Regions from separate parts of the Homo sapiens genome. Here regions 1, 3 and 4 are each linked to region 2. Evidence: promoter capture Hi-C in 16 types of primary human blood cells and fetal thymus (Javierre and others, 2016). All regions are on one chromosome and are shown on one strand. The core of a region is centred on a gene start or on the middle of the fragment in contact, and the rest is flanking DNA. Distances in the headings are between cores, read along the strand shown.

The links. Contacts are between HindIII fragments. The CHiCAGO score rates a contact against its expected background, and 5 or more counts as called.
Region 1: a fragment that was not itself captured here is called in contact with the fragment with the promoter of H3C4 in region 2 in 4 of 17 cell types (total CD4 T cells, monocytes, M0 macrophages and 1 more); the score reaches 7.1 in total CD4 T cells.
Region 3: a contact is called between a fragment that was not itself captured here and the fragment with the promoter of H3C4 in region 2, in 2 of 17 cell types (M0 macrophages and M1 macrophages). The highest score is 9.9, in M0 macrophages.
Region 4: a contact is called between a fragment that was not itself captured here and the fragment with the promoter of H3C4 in region 2, in 2 of 17 cell types (naive B cells and total B cells). The highest score is 8.8, in naive B cells.

What each region holds. Positions count from the first base shown.
Region 1 is chr6:27,798,003-27,801,440 of GRCh38, reverse strand. No RefSeq gene overlaps it. Among named protein-coding and RNA genes, the nearest start is that of TRQ-TTG3-3, 3.8 kb to the right of the region's middle. The HindIII fragment of the contact is 618 bases long and covers 1,303-1,920 here.
Region 2 is chr6:26,195,192-26,198,567 of GRCh38, reverse strand. It overlaps H3C4 (H3 clustered histone 4), which reads left to right and starts at 1,282. Exons shown (of 1, transcript NM_001376937.1): 1 at 1,282-1,784. The coding sequence starts at 1,318. The coding sequence ends at 1,728. It also overlaps the pseudogene H1-12P. RefSeq lists enhancers at 61-120, 151-210, 953-1,553, 1,932-2,041, 1,554-2,155 and 1 more. The HindIII fragment of the contact is 2,796 bases long and covers 1-1,910 here.
Region 3 is chr6:24,721,178-24,724,764 of GRCh38, reverse strand. No RefSeq gene overlaps it. Among named protein-coding and RNA genes, the nearest start is that of C6orf62, 3.8 kb to the right of the region's middle. RefSeq lists enhancers at 2,768-2,857, 2,908-2,957, 2,549-3,342, 3,088-3,587. The HindIII fragment of the contact is 1,539 bases long and covers 1,568-3,106 here.
Region 4 is chr6:27,670,746-27,673,972 of GRCh38, reverse strand. It overlaps TRS-CGA3-1 (tRNA-Ser (anticodon CGA) 3-1), which reads left to right and starts at 1,442; the gene lies at 1,442-1,523. The HindIII fragment of the contact is 3,512 bases long and covers 89-3,227 here.

The sequences.
Region 1 (3,438 bases), core at 362-2,861, 1.6 Mb before region 2:
AAATGAAACAGCCTGGTTACTAAGGAATAGTTTCATAATTTTGAATGGGATTAAAACTTGTCTCTCTTACTGTTGGTGGAATCCTGTCTTAAACAGCCACACAGGCAATCTAGCATGAACTAATAGTCCTTCCTTGGTTGGTTTTGGGCTGCAACTCATTGATAATCATCATGCTTAGTTTGCCTTTGTTCCAATTCCAAGCAGGCCAACCACTTTCCCATGTACATATTGTAACCACCCAAGGGGTTAACCTTGCCCGCTGCCTAGACAGAGCTGATTCATCAAGACAGGGGAATTGCAATAGAGAAAGAGTAATTCACACAGAGCTGGCTGTGCAGGAGACTGGAGTTTTATTACTCAAATCAGTTTCCCTGGGCATTTGGGGAGCAGAGTTTTTAAGGATAACTTGGTGGATGGGGGGAAGCCAGTGAGCCAGGAGTGCTGAATGGTCAGAGATTAAATCATAGGGAGTTGAAGCTCTCTTCTTGTGCTGAGTCAGTTCCTGGGTGGGGGCTACAGGATCAGATGAGCCAGTTAATAGATCTGGGTGGTGCTATCTGACCCATCTTGAGTGCAGCGTCTGCAAAATATCTCAAGCACTGATCTTAGGAGCAGTTAGGGAGGGTTAGAATCTTGTAGCCTCCAGCTGCCATAATTTTTAATCTTGTGGCTAATGTTAGTCCTACAAAGGCAATCCAGTCCCAAGGCAAGAAGGAGGTCTGCTTTGGGAAAGGGCTGTTACCATCTTTGTTTAAACTATAAACTACAAACTAAGTTTCTCCCTAAATTAGTTCAGCCTACACCCAGGAATGAACAAGGATGGCTTGGAGGTTAGAAGCAAGACGGAGTTGGTTAAATTCCATCTCTTTCTCTGTCTCAGTCATAATTTTGCAAAGGTGGCTTCAATATCTGTCATTAAATTGCTGGAATGTTACTTTATTTTGCATTTGACTATTTTTTTTTTAAATTTTTATTTGAGATGAAGTCTCGTTCTGTCGCCCAGGCTGGAGTGCAGTGGCACGATCTCTGCTCACCACAACCTCCACCTCCCAGGTTCAAGCGATTCTCCTGCCTCAGCCTCCCGAGTAGCTGGGATTACAGGCGCGTGCCACTGCACCTGGCTAATTTTTTGTGTTTTTAGTAGAGATGGAGTTTCACCATGTTGGCCAGGCTGGTCTTGAACTCCTGACCTCAGTTAATCTGCCCGCCTCGGCCTCCCAAAGTGCTAGGATTACAGGCGTGAGCCACTGTGCCTGGCCCGATTATTTAATATCTGAGAAACATAAGAGGCTAAGAAAAGCTTTGAAAGAATGTCATCTATTTTATTTATGCTTATATTATGGCCAGGTTATATTTCTTTTTCTTTTTTTTTTTTTTTTGAGATGGAGTCTCACTCTGTTGCCCTGGAGTGCAATGGTGTGATCTCAGCTCACTGCAACCTCCACCTCCCGGGTTCAAGGGATTCTCCTACTTCAGCCTCCCAAGTAGCTGGGATTACAGGCACGTACCACCACGCCCGCCTAATTTTTTAAAAGTTTTTAGTAGAGACAGGGTTTCTCCATGTTGGCCAGGCTGGTCCCGAACTCCTGACCTCAGGTGATCCACCTGCCTCGGCCTCCCACATTGATGGGGTTACAGGCATGAGTCACCGTGCCTGGCCAACCAGGTTATATTTCTATAGCCTCTCCAAATTCTGGGAACGAACCCCACTTGAGGCCTACAACACTAAATTCCCACATCCCCAAAAGATGTACTCAAATATTGGAGCAGTTAGCACAGTCCAGACTATCAAATGTGTTGACCTGAAATCTATTTTCTGTATGGACAAGAAGACTACAGACTGAGAATTTTAATAGAAGATATTGCCATTCATAAGAATTGTGCTGCAGGAAGGAAAAGAGACGAGAAAACCTACAAGCTTAACCAAGAAAATGGATCTAACCTTCCATTCAGTGGCCCCCAGATCTTCCTGTTCCTTTCCATGCAATGAACAAACATAGGAGCTAGAACCTGGTTCCTTGGTGTAAAACAAACAAACAAACAAAAAAACAACAAAAAAAAAACAGCCAAAACTGAGGATCTAAGGTCATCTTGACCTTTGTGAGATCACCACAAAGAAACAAATGCCATTTTGTCCACTGTGTGATCACAAACAAGTCAGTGACACTCATTATACCAGTTTCCTTAACAGCAAAATAGGGGTGAAAATCAGCCTCATTTTATCAGGAAGTTGTATGATTGAATAAGACAATGAATAAGATATATGTAGGACAGGCATGGTGGCTCATGCCCGTAATCCCAGTACTTTGGGAGGCCGAGGTGGGCAGATCACTTGAGGTCAGGAGTTCAGGACCAGCCTGGCCAACATGGTGAAACCTCGTCTCTACTAAAATTACAAAAATTAGCTGGGCATGGTGGCACATGCCTGTAATCCCAGCTACTCAGAAGGCTAAGGCAGGAGAATCACTTGAACCCGGGAGGCAGAGGTTGCAGTGAGCCAAGACTGCGCCACTGAACTCCAGCCTGGGAAACAGAGCGAGGCTCTGTCTCAAACAAACAAACAAACAAACAAAAAAGACATATGTAACAGGGAAATAATTATCACCATGCATTAAGAGGAAAAGAATAATATAGAAATTACTGCAAATTATATTTATAAGTGAGGAAAATCACTCAGAGCCAGTAATTTTACCTCTATATGACCCCATCAGCCAGCTTAAAGGAAATTAACTTACTTAACCAAAAAAACATTTATTGAGCACTTAATATATGAGAGACAATATATTAGCATTGAGAATACACGCTGAAAATAGCCTGCTAAAATTCCTGTTCTTATGGTACTTTGAGGTGGGATTAAATTCCATAACATGTCATCACCTTGATAAGTGGTTTAGATAAAAATACAGCAGGAAAGGGGATAGGGAGCTGGAGATTGCATTTTTAAGGAGGGCATACAAATGAGGTCTCATTGAACTGTCATTGGCATAAACTGGTGAGAGAGTATATTGCTACCTGGGGGAAGCTGTTTGGGGCAGAAGGAACTATGAGTGCAAAGTACCAGAGGCAGGCTCTGCTTAGCATGTTCTGGGAACAGCAGGTTAGGCCATAGTGGTGGGAGCAAAGACAGCCATGGGGTGGGTAAGAAGTTTTGAGCTTCATCGTTCACCTTCTTGGCTCTTAGCCCAAAATGATTCCTACATAGAGCCTCAAAAACCTGCACATTTTCTAAATAGCTGCTGAAAAAATGCACCACAAAATAAAAAAGAGAAAATGGCTCTGCCCCTGCTAAGATCTAGATCTAGGAAAGCAAATGATATTCTTGTACAATGATGCATAAAGGGATAAATTCTAATAAAGGAGTATTGGTCTCAGCTGTACCCCATCACCAAGACCAGTGCATTAAATGCAATACTGAGTGAATGATACCCAACAAATGTC
Region 2 (3,376 bases), core at 33-2,532:
AGGGTCAGGAGTTCCAGGACAGCCTGACCAACATGGTGTGAAGCCCCGTCTTTACTAAAAATAAAAAAATTTGTCGGGCGTGGTGGCGCGCGCCTGTAATTTCAGCTATTTAAGAGGTTGAGGCAGGAGAAAATGTTGAACCCCGGAGGCGGAGGTTGCAGTGAGTCGAGATCGCGCCACTGCACTCCAGTTTCGGCGACAGAGCGAGACTGTCTCAAAACAAACAAAAACCCAAAAAAGCAAACTAATTAAAATGCAAAGAGACTTTATGTCACATGTAATTTAAATCGATCAATGCAGCGGCTCGTTAGGATTGCAAAGCTGTTAAAAGGCCTGAGACATACAGGAGAGAAGTTAATGTTTGTCAGTGTTTACATTTACATAAAAATATAGTTAGTGACTTAAAGCAACAGAACCAGAACAAATGTTTTATTGTCTTTTGTATGCATCTTAATGATACGAAATAACCTGTAATTTGTAAGTATTTTTTGGGTTTGTTTTTGCAAGCCACTTTCAACTCTACTGAGCTAACCCTAATTAATTATCAATAGGAATACAAACCTACATCCCCTGGAGCCAGACGGCCCTTAGGTGGAGCTTCTTAGCACAGTGTTCAGCATGACTAAAAGGGCACACTGGTCTTTTTGTGCCATTTATAAATTTGGCTTTTTTTTTTTTTTTTTTTTACAGCAGATTACACAAATACCAGTTGAACTTGTAAAAGATAAGAGTGCTTTCATATGAGGATGACATATTGTGGTGAAATTAAATGTGTTCATGTAGCTTAACATCAGGTTTCATATTGTTACTTATGAGTTAATAGTCATGGTGCATTTGGAACAAATTATTGAAAATATCTCCAAGTTTAAATAGACAAATCAAGATATGAAATTAACCTTTCTAAACTTAAGAGGGTAAAAAGAAATCACTTGGCCAATCACAACTAGCGCGCGTCTTTTTAAAACGTTGATCAAAGCCAGTTTCAGCGCCAACATTTAAAAAAAAATTAAGACACGTCATCCTAGTAGCTAGACACAATTTTGCCAAGGAAAACCAAAGTACGTTTTAAATAAAAGCTAGAAACATGGCACAGAGGGGAAAGGGTTGAAAACACCAGCAGTTAAAGATGGACGGAGGAAAGTTTTAATATTTGGTCTACATGCAGGAGATGTTCTGTCAGGGAGTGGGCGTCTCCACCAATCGAGCTGCAGGGGAAAGGCTGCCTTGTCCAATCAGAACAGGGGTGTCTTTATATATACGGGTACGAAAGGCTAGACTTTCGTTTTTTCGTCATTTAGCAGGGTTTAGAAGTTCGCAATGGCTCGTACCAAGCAGACTGCTCGCAAGTCCACGGGTGGGAAAGCGCCACGCAAGCAGCTGGCCACCAAGGCTGCTCGAAAGAGCGCTCCAGCCACCGGCGGCGTGAAGAAGCCCCACCGTTACCGGCCCGGCACGGTGGCTCTGCGCGAGATCCGCCGCTACCAGAAGTCGACCGAGCTGCTGATTCGCAAACTGCCATTCCAGCGTCTAGTCCGTGAGATCGCGCAGGACTTCAAGACTGATCTGCGTTTTCAGAGCTCGGCGGTGATGGCGCTGCAGGAGGCCTGCGAGGCCTACCTGGTGGGGCTGTTTGAGGACACCAACCTATGCGCCATTCACGCCAAGCGAGTGACTATCATGCCCAAGGACATCCAGCTTGCTCGCCGCATTCGTGGGGAGAGGGCGTAAATTGTCTTGTGAATGTGTGCTAACCAAAACCCAAAGGCTCTTTTCAGAGCCAACCACCTTTTCTATAAAAGTTGCTGTTTACTGTTGCTGTCCGTAAACTGGAACCTCTGTTCACTCAAGGTAAGTAAGCATTCTTGCCTCTATCCGTTCCCCCTCCCCTCACGGAATTGGTGCAAAAAGCTTTATTATAATTGGGGAGTTCTTAAAACAGCCTTTAAGGTACTCTTATATCTCCTTGTTTTGGGGGCCGCTTTCTTAGGCTTGGATGCCTCCGGCTTGGGAACTTTCTTGGCCACCTTTGACCAACCAACCTTCTCCAGCAGCCTCCACCAGCAAAAGCTTTTGGGGTCCGCTTAGTACTCTTTTTCGGAATAAGGACGCCCCAAGCTTTCTTGGGCCTCTCGGCTGCCAGGACAGCTGTCTTGGGCATGACTGCAGCGGCTTTTCTGGCCTCGGTCTTGATTTTCCTAACACTGCCTGGTTTGGCGGGAATGAACCTGAGGCGCTGCACTCCTTAGCACGAAGATGCCCTCGTTTGTTTTCAAGGCCCAACTTTATTCAAATAATTTTTAAAAATTTGTATTTATTTTTAGGGACGAGGTCTCACTGTGTTACCCAGGCTGGCCTCAAAACTCCTTAGCTTGGCCAGGCGAGGTGGCTCAGGCCTGTAATCACAGCACTTTAGGATGCCAAGGCGGGCGGATCACGTGATGCCAAGAGTTCGAGACCAGCCTGCCCAACACATTGAAACTTCGTCTCTACTGAGAATACAAAAATTAGCCGGGTGTGGTGGCACACGCCTGCAGTCCCAGCTACATGGAAAGCTGAGGCAGGAGAAGGGCTTGAACCCGGGAGGCGGAAGTTGCAGTGAACCGAGATCACACCACTGCACTCCAGCCTGGGCAGCAGAGCTAGACTCCTTCAAAAAAAAAAAAAAAATCCCCAAGGACAAACAAAACCACCAAAAACAACTCCTTAGCTTAAGAGATTCTCCCGCCTTGGCCTCACAAAATGCTGAGATTACAAACGTAGGCCACCGCGACCGGCAAGGGCCGATCTTCATATCGTAGCCGCCAACACCTACTTGAGCGCGGCCACAGAGAAGGCCGCTGCGCTTCTTGGAGACGGCTAAGTCATTAGTGATGAACTCACATACCGGAGGGGCCTGGACATCTTGCACTTCACTGCAACTTCGGACTTGCAACCTTTTTCTTTACTTCAGTCTTTGACTTGGGAGATAGACCAGGAGTCACGGCATGTACAGTTTCGGACATGATTGTAGGTTTGGATATCTAACAGTTAAAAAAAAAAAAAGTCAGGCTGCGAGTGTGTCTGTGATTACGTGTGTGTCACACACAGACACGCTGCGCGCTGATTGGTTCCCAGCTCAGTCTTTCAGCTTGGCAGCAACCTAGTCTCAACCCTGTTTCTGAGTTGTGTTTGCGGAAATTCAGAAAATCAAAATAGTTTAAATTTCCTGAGGAGGAATCACACCAATTCTATTCTACAATGAACTGGAACGGCTACGGTGTTATGATCTTTACATTTTCTTTCTCTAGTTTTTACTTAAGGCAGCCTCGGCCTTTATCAAAAGTTCCAACTTTCAGAGATTCACAGTTCAGAGGGACAACTTCTTGATTTTCATTTA
Region 3 (3,587 bases), core at 1,088-3,587, 1.5 Mb after region 2:
AACACAGGAGCCCGCCCAAGCTGGCCTGCATTGTGTTTCTTCAGAAAGGAGGCTCGCACAGAATCTCTATAAGGTGTTATTTCATTAAAATGTAACCTTTGCAGTGATATCTGCATTTCAACCAGGGAAATTTCAATGTATCTAGTGGTATAATTTAAAACTCCAAAAGGGAAGTTAAGCAGATATTTTTAGCCAAGGTGCCACCATCAAATCATCACTCCACAAATCCTATTGTGTTTGAAGCAGCCTAACCCTAAGTAAGCCATTTCTAACACAATGAAATGCATTTCTCCACAGTTAAAGAAGCTAAATCTTAAGTGAATGCTCTCTGACTTTTATCTGAATTTCATTGAGAAACGTTTGGTCACGGCTTTTAAAAATTTTAATTCCTTCGACTACCTTCTTATTTTATAGCCCTTTCAAGTTACAGAGAAAATTGAGCTAGCAGTGTTTTCGTCCTCCAGGGGACATTGCTGCTATTTCTTGGCTCATCTCATTAAGACCTAGCACAGTCCCATAACACAGTTTCATAGGATGTGCTCAGCTGTGACCAGGTGTCTCCAATTCTGTTTCACAGTAGCTGAAACTAAAAACTTCATTTTTTCCTCAACATCTGCTCCATACTGTTTTTTTCAGGATTATTATAGTAGTGAAAAAATTCTTCAATGGTGTATTAGATAAAACAACAAAAGCACAAGGGACAAATGAAAAACATAGATAAGTTGGACTTTATTAAAATTAAAGACTTCCGTGCTGCGAAGGATATCACCAAGAAAGTGAAAGGACAGCCCACAGAATAGGGGAGCGTATTTGTAAAGTATATATTTGACAGGGAACTTGTATCTAGAATAAAAAACTTCTACACCTTAATAATTAAAAAAACAATTTTTTAAATTAAAAATGGGTAAAAGGCCGAGCTTGGTGGCTCACACCTGTAATCCCAACACTTTGGGAGGCCGAGGTGGGTGGATCACTTGAGGTCAGGAGTCTGAGACGAGCCTGGCCAACATGGTGAAACTCCGTCTCTACTAAAAATACAAAAATCATCCGGGCATGGTGGTGGGGGCCTGTGGGCCCAGCTACTCGGGGCTGAGGCAGAAGAACTGCTTGAACCCAGGAAGCGGAGGTTGCAGTGAGCTGAGATAATGCCACTGCACTTCAGCCTGGGCAACATAGCGAGACTCTGTCTCAAAAAATAAATAAATAAACAAGTAGATAAATAAAAATGGGCAAAAGTTCTGAATAGACATTTCTCCAAAGAAGATATTAGAACAGCCAATAAGCACATGAAAAGATGCTCAACATCATTAATCGTTGGGGAAAGGAAAATCAAAACCACCATGACATACATCATACCCACTAGGATGGTTATACTAAAAAAGACATAATAACAAGAATGTGGAGAAATTGGAATACACTGCTGGAGGAAATGTAAAATGATGCAACAGACTTGGAAAACATCTGGCAGTTTCTCACATGGTTAAAGATAGAGTTAACATATATCCCAGTAATTCCACTCTTAAGTATATGCCCAAGAGAATTAAAAACATACGTCTATACAAAAGCTTTTAAGTAAATGTTCATAGCAGCATTATTTATAACAGCCAAAAGGCAGAGACAACTCAAATGTCCATCAACTGATGAATGAATATAGAATTTCATACAATACATATTATTCCACAATAAAAAGGAATTAAGTACTGATACATGCTACAACATGGATGAACCTTGAAAACATTATGCTAAGTGAAGAAGCCAGTCACAAAAGACCACATATTAAATGATTTCATTTATATGAAATTTCAGAAACGGCAAATCTATAGACAGAACATAAACTAGAAAGAAGAGAAGTGACTGCTAATAGGTACAGGGTTTCTTTTTGGGGTAATGTAATGGCTGCACAACACTGAATATATTAAAAACCATTGGATTGTACACTTCAAGTAGATAAATACGGTATGTGAATTATATTTCAATAAAGCTGTTATTTTAAAAATTCTTCCATGAAGTTGATCATGGATACAAGTCAAGGCCAGGTCAAGAACATATAAGCCGGCTGGGAATGGTGGCTCATGCCTGTAATCCCAACACTTTGGGAGGTTGAGGCAGGCGGATCACCTGAAGATCATACTGGCTTGTATGTCTCATATGTTTGTTTGTTTTTTTTTTTTTTTCCGACGGAGTCTCACTCTGTTGCCCAGGCTGGAGTGCAATGGTGCGATCTCGGCTCACTGCAATCTCCGCCTCCCGGGTTCAAGCGATTCTCCTGCCTCAGCCTCTCGAGTAGCTGGGACTGCAGGCGCCTGCCACCAAGCCAGGCTGATTTTAGTATTTTCAGTAGAGACGAGGTTTCACCATGTTGGCCAGGCTGGTCTCGAACTCCTGACCTTAGGTGATCCGCCTGCCTCGGTCTCCCAAAGTGCTGGCATTACAGGCGTGAGCCACCATGCTCGGCTTACTTTTAAAAATCTTTCTTTTTTAAACCAATGCTCTAAACTACGTGACATTTTCTGTTTTATCTCTGTGAGCTTTCCATAGTTACATGATTTTGAAAACAAATCAGCAAAGCACTAGCAAAATGCAAGCTGTATCTTCCGAGATTAGAAGTTATTTGGAAATCTCAGGACTCATCCTTTGGTTCTGGACAATTTATATTGAAGGGTGGGTACCAGTTATTCTTTTGGCTCATGGCTGAAATAATGTTATTACAGCTGATCTGTTTTGACTTCACGAAGTGAAAAGTAGTAATTGGGGTCCCAATGGACTTCTAAAATCTCAGAGTAGCCAATGAGTATATAAGCATTGCTTATGTGGAGTATTGACCTTTGCTAAGTACTTACATAACTGTGTTTTAAAGAGCACATTAGAGCTTTGAAAAATGGACTCAACGCTTTTTGGTGCCAAGGACGTGCGACTCGGCGGCAAACGTTTCGATGAAGACAGTGAACCACCTAAGGGGCAGGCTGTAGGTCTGAGGTCTTGGGGGATTCTAACAGAAAGTGTGTTCTGACAGCAGTGGGTAAAAATCCACGAGTCAGACTGGGCTGCTCCTCTCCTAAGCCACAGCAGCAACGTCTGAACAACGTCTTTGACCTTGTTCGAAGCTTGAGGACCGCCCTCCCTGCCTGCGCACGTGGCGGGGTGGGGACAGAGGCAAGTAGCACTAACATGAGACATCTGCTCCCGCACGCCGTTTAAATTCCAGGTGTCGAATTGAGTTCTAGGTTTGTTGCCGCAGGATACCGCGGGGCCGACCCCCAGGACTAACTAATTATAAGAATCGAAATAAGAATCTTCCAATCTCCAACACACACTTTCCTTTTCCTTCTTTGCTCCGCCCCTACCCTCGCCCACTCTCCGCCGACTTCCGCAGTTTTGGCCCGCCCAGGTCGCTAGTTCGGCTCTGTCACGCGCCCAGCCTGACTCTGAGAGGCTGACGAGACTCGGGAAGTGCGACTCCATCCGGGTGTTTTGTTGAGGATGGTTGAGGGCGTGCTTTTATGACGACATCGGGGCGGGGCGAAGAGCCAACTCAGGAGACTGGGACTTCCTGAAGAAGGGGGGCGGAAGGAGTGGCGGGGAGCCCC
Region 4 (3,227 bases), core at 595-3,094, 1.5 Mb before region 2:
TGATCCAGCAATCACACCCCTTGGCAACTATGCAAAGGAGCTGAAAACATGTCTACACAAAACCTGCACATAAATGTTTATAGAAGCTTTATTCATAATTGCCAAAAGTTGGAAGTAACCAATATGTCTTTCAGTAGGTAAATGAATAAATATACTACGGTACCTCAGACAATGGAATATTATTCAGCCCTAAAAATAAATGAGTTATTAAAGCATGAAAAGACACGGAGGAATCTTAAATGCTTATTACTAAGTGGAAGACAACCAGGAAAATTGTTACCCTAAAGTCAATTGAAGAAAGTGTTGTAAGAAGGAGAATGTATTAATAGCTGCAGCTATCCCAAGTAAGGTGAGGACTGGGAAATGATTTTAGCCATGTGGAGATAATCGGCGACCTTGTCAAGGCATTATAGGATCACTGACAGTCCTTCAGAGGCTGGTAGGTGGATTAATGTGGTGATAGATGTGCGTGGAAGGTCTCTTCTGATTGTGAAGTAGGAAGTAAAGTCATCAATTGAACACAAGGATGGGAGAGGAGGTGTTGGAGCATTGGCATGAGAGATATGAAATAGTGACTTATTTTTTTTTTTTTTGAGACGGAGTCTCACTGTCTGTCACCCAGGCTGGAGGGCAGTGGCGCCATCTCAGCTCACTGCAACTCCGCCTCCCAGGTTCAAGTTATTCTCCTGCCTCAGCCTCCCGAGTAGCTGGGATTACAGGCGCGAGCCATCACATCTGGCTTTTTTTTTTTTTTTTTTTTAGTAGAGATGGGGTTTCGCCATGTTGGCCAGGCTGGTCTCGAACTCCTAACCTCAGGTGATCTCCCCCCCCGCCTCGGCCTCCAAAGTGCTAGGATTACAGGCTTGGACCACTGCATCCGGCTGAAACAGTGACTTAGAACAAGAGGATTGGGAGTGGACTAATCTAATCGCGTATGGTACAATTTGCCTGGTAGCCTTGAGCACCTACTTGACATTCATTGTCATGAATTTAAAGTGAGGTCTGTCAACTGATTGTTTTTCTTCCGCCATGTTTAGCTGCCCTGGTTGTGGCTTTGCCAAAGGAGTACAAAGTGAGAGAGGCAGGGAAATTGAGAGTGCAGCAAGAACGTGACTCTAACATGTGCTGGGTAAAGAGAGAAGAAAATTCATGAACTGGAGGGAGGAATAGGGAACAGACAACTGAGTCTCCGGGGATTTGTTCCAGCAACAAAAGCAGCCACTAAGCACCAAATAAGTTTCTGATGCATAGAGAGTCAGATAACAAGTAAAGATTAAGACACTATTATGTTTCCCAGGAACTTCTTATTGAAAGAGAGAGACAAATATATAAAAAGTGACAAATACAAACACGGAAGCATTAACCTGCCGTGGGAACATTAAAAAGCGAGAGAGTCAAAGAGCCTAACACGACTTCCTCTGAAACAAAAAGTGTCCTCGGAGCTGTGATGGCCGAGTGGTTAAGGTGTTGGACTCGAAATCCAATGGGGGTTCCCCGCGCAGGTTCAAATCCTGCTCACAGCGTCGCCATTTTCTGGTTAGATTTCCAATTTGCTACTTTCATCAGTTAGCTTTCATTAGTTCACTAGGATAGAAAGTTGTGAGTGCTATCGCTGTGGCTTTTACAGCGCGCGCACACTTGTGGAAATGTACATCAAGAAATATGTACATTTGAAGGCCGGGCGCGGTGGCTCACTTCTGCAATCCCCGCACTTGGGGAGGCCGAAACGGGCGGATCATTTGAGGTCAGGGGTTGGAGACCAGCCTGACCAACACGGTGAAACCCCGTCTCTACTAAAAATGCAGAAAAATTAGCCGGGCTTACTGGCGCACGCCTGTAGTCCCAGCTACTTGGGAGCCTGAGGCAGAAGAATCGCTTGAACCTGGGAGGCGAAGGTTGCAGTGAGCCGAGATCGCGCCACTGCACTCCAGCCTGGGAGACAGAGTGAGACTGTCTCAAAGAAAAAGAAGATACTAGTTGTCTTACATCTAATCATAATGGCAAATACAAGACAGGTGCAACGTTGAAAATATTAGGAATACAATTTCCCTTTTAGATTACTAGTATGACAGCTTTCTTAAAGCATTCTCAGGCAGCAATCTTTACTTTGTATTTGTCCTGATCTCACAGCTGGTGGGAGCCAAAAAAATTAGGATGATAACAATCCGTCATATGCATTAGTTGCTCTTCAAAGCGTTTTGTATAAACGAGGAAACAGAGGCACAAAGAGGATATATTTTGGCTTCTGACCACCTTCTTAAACCCATACGAAACTTCGTCTCCTTATAAGCACTTCTTCATTTTCCACTATTTTGCTTACTTTGAACAGCTATGCAAGTAAAGTTCCTTTTTCTAAGTTTCTATGTCAAATGTGATTCTGAAAAATGTGTACTTTCCCGAATTCTTGACTCCTCGTTAAATTTGAGTGTCTTCATCTGCTACTTTGAGTTGTAATACCATTTTACAATAAACTTCTCCCTAGTGAGTGGGTACTTGTTTTTTCCTTTTGGACGAGAAGAGGGAAAAACTATGATTAATACTTCCAGAAATGTATTACAAAGCACTTTACTTTTGGCAATATCTAAATTTAAAATAATACATATTGCTCATTACTGATCCACATACATCATTAGTGCCCAATGTAAGTATATTAAAAATGAAATTCAGGCCAGACACGGTGGCTCACGCCTGTAATCCCAGCACTTCGGGAGGCCGAGGCGGGCGAGTCACCTGAAGTAGGAAGTTCGAGATCAGCCTGACCAACACGGAGAAACCCCGTCTTTACTAAAAATACAAAATTAGCCGTGCATGGAGGCACATGCCTGTAATCCCAGCTACTTGGGAGGCTGAGGCATGAGAATCACTTGAACCCAGGAGGCGGTGGTTGCAGTGAGCCGAGATCGCGCCGCTGCACTCCAGCCTGGGCAACAAGAGCGAAACTCCGACTCAAAAAAAAAAAAAAAAAAAAAAAAAATCAAATTCAGGTAAAAGCAGCTGATTGGCCTGAAAAATAAGTAACAAAAAGCTAAAAAGTAGGCACACACATGAAAGAGAAGATAGAAACACCAATATTGCTTTGAAGGAAAGACATTCATCTTAGCTCATATATAATGTTTCAAAGATGAAAAATGGTCATTATTTTCAATAAAGACACTTTATGTGAATGTCTATTATGCCAACAAACCACAAAAGAAAACATGCTTTCCTTGAATCAGTGTGGTTTGGGG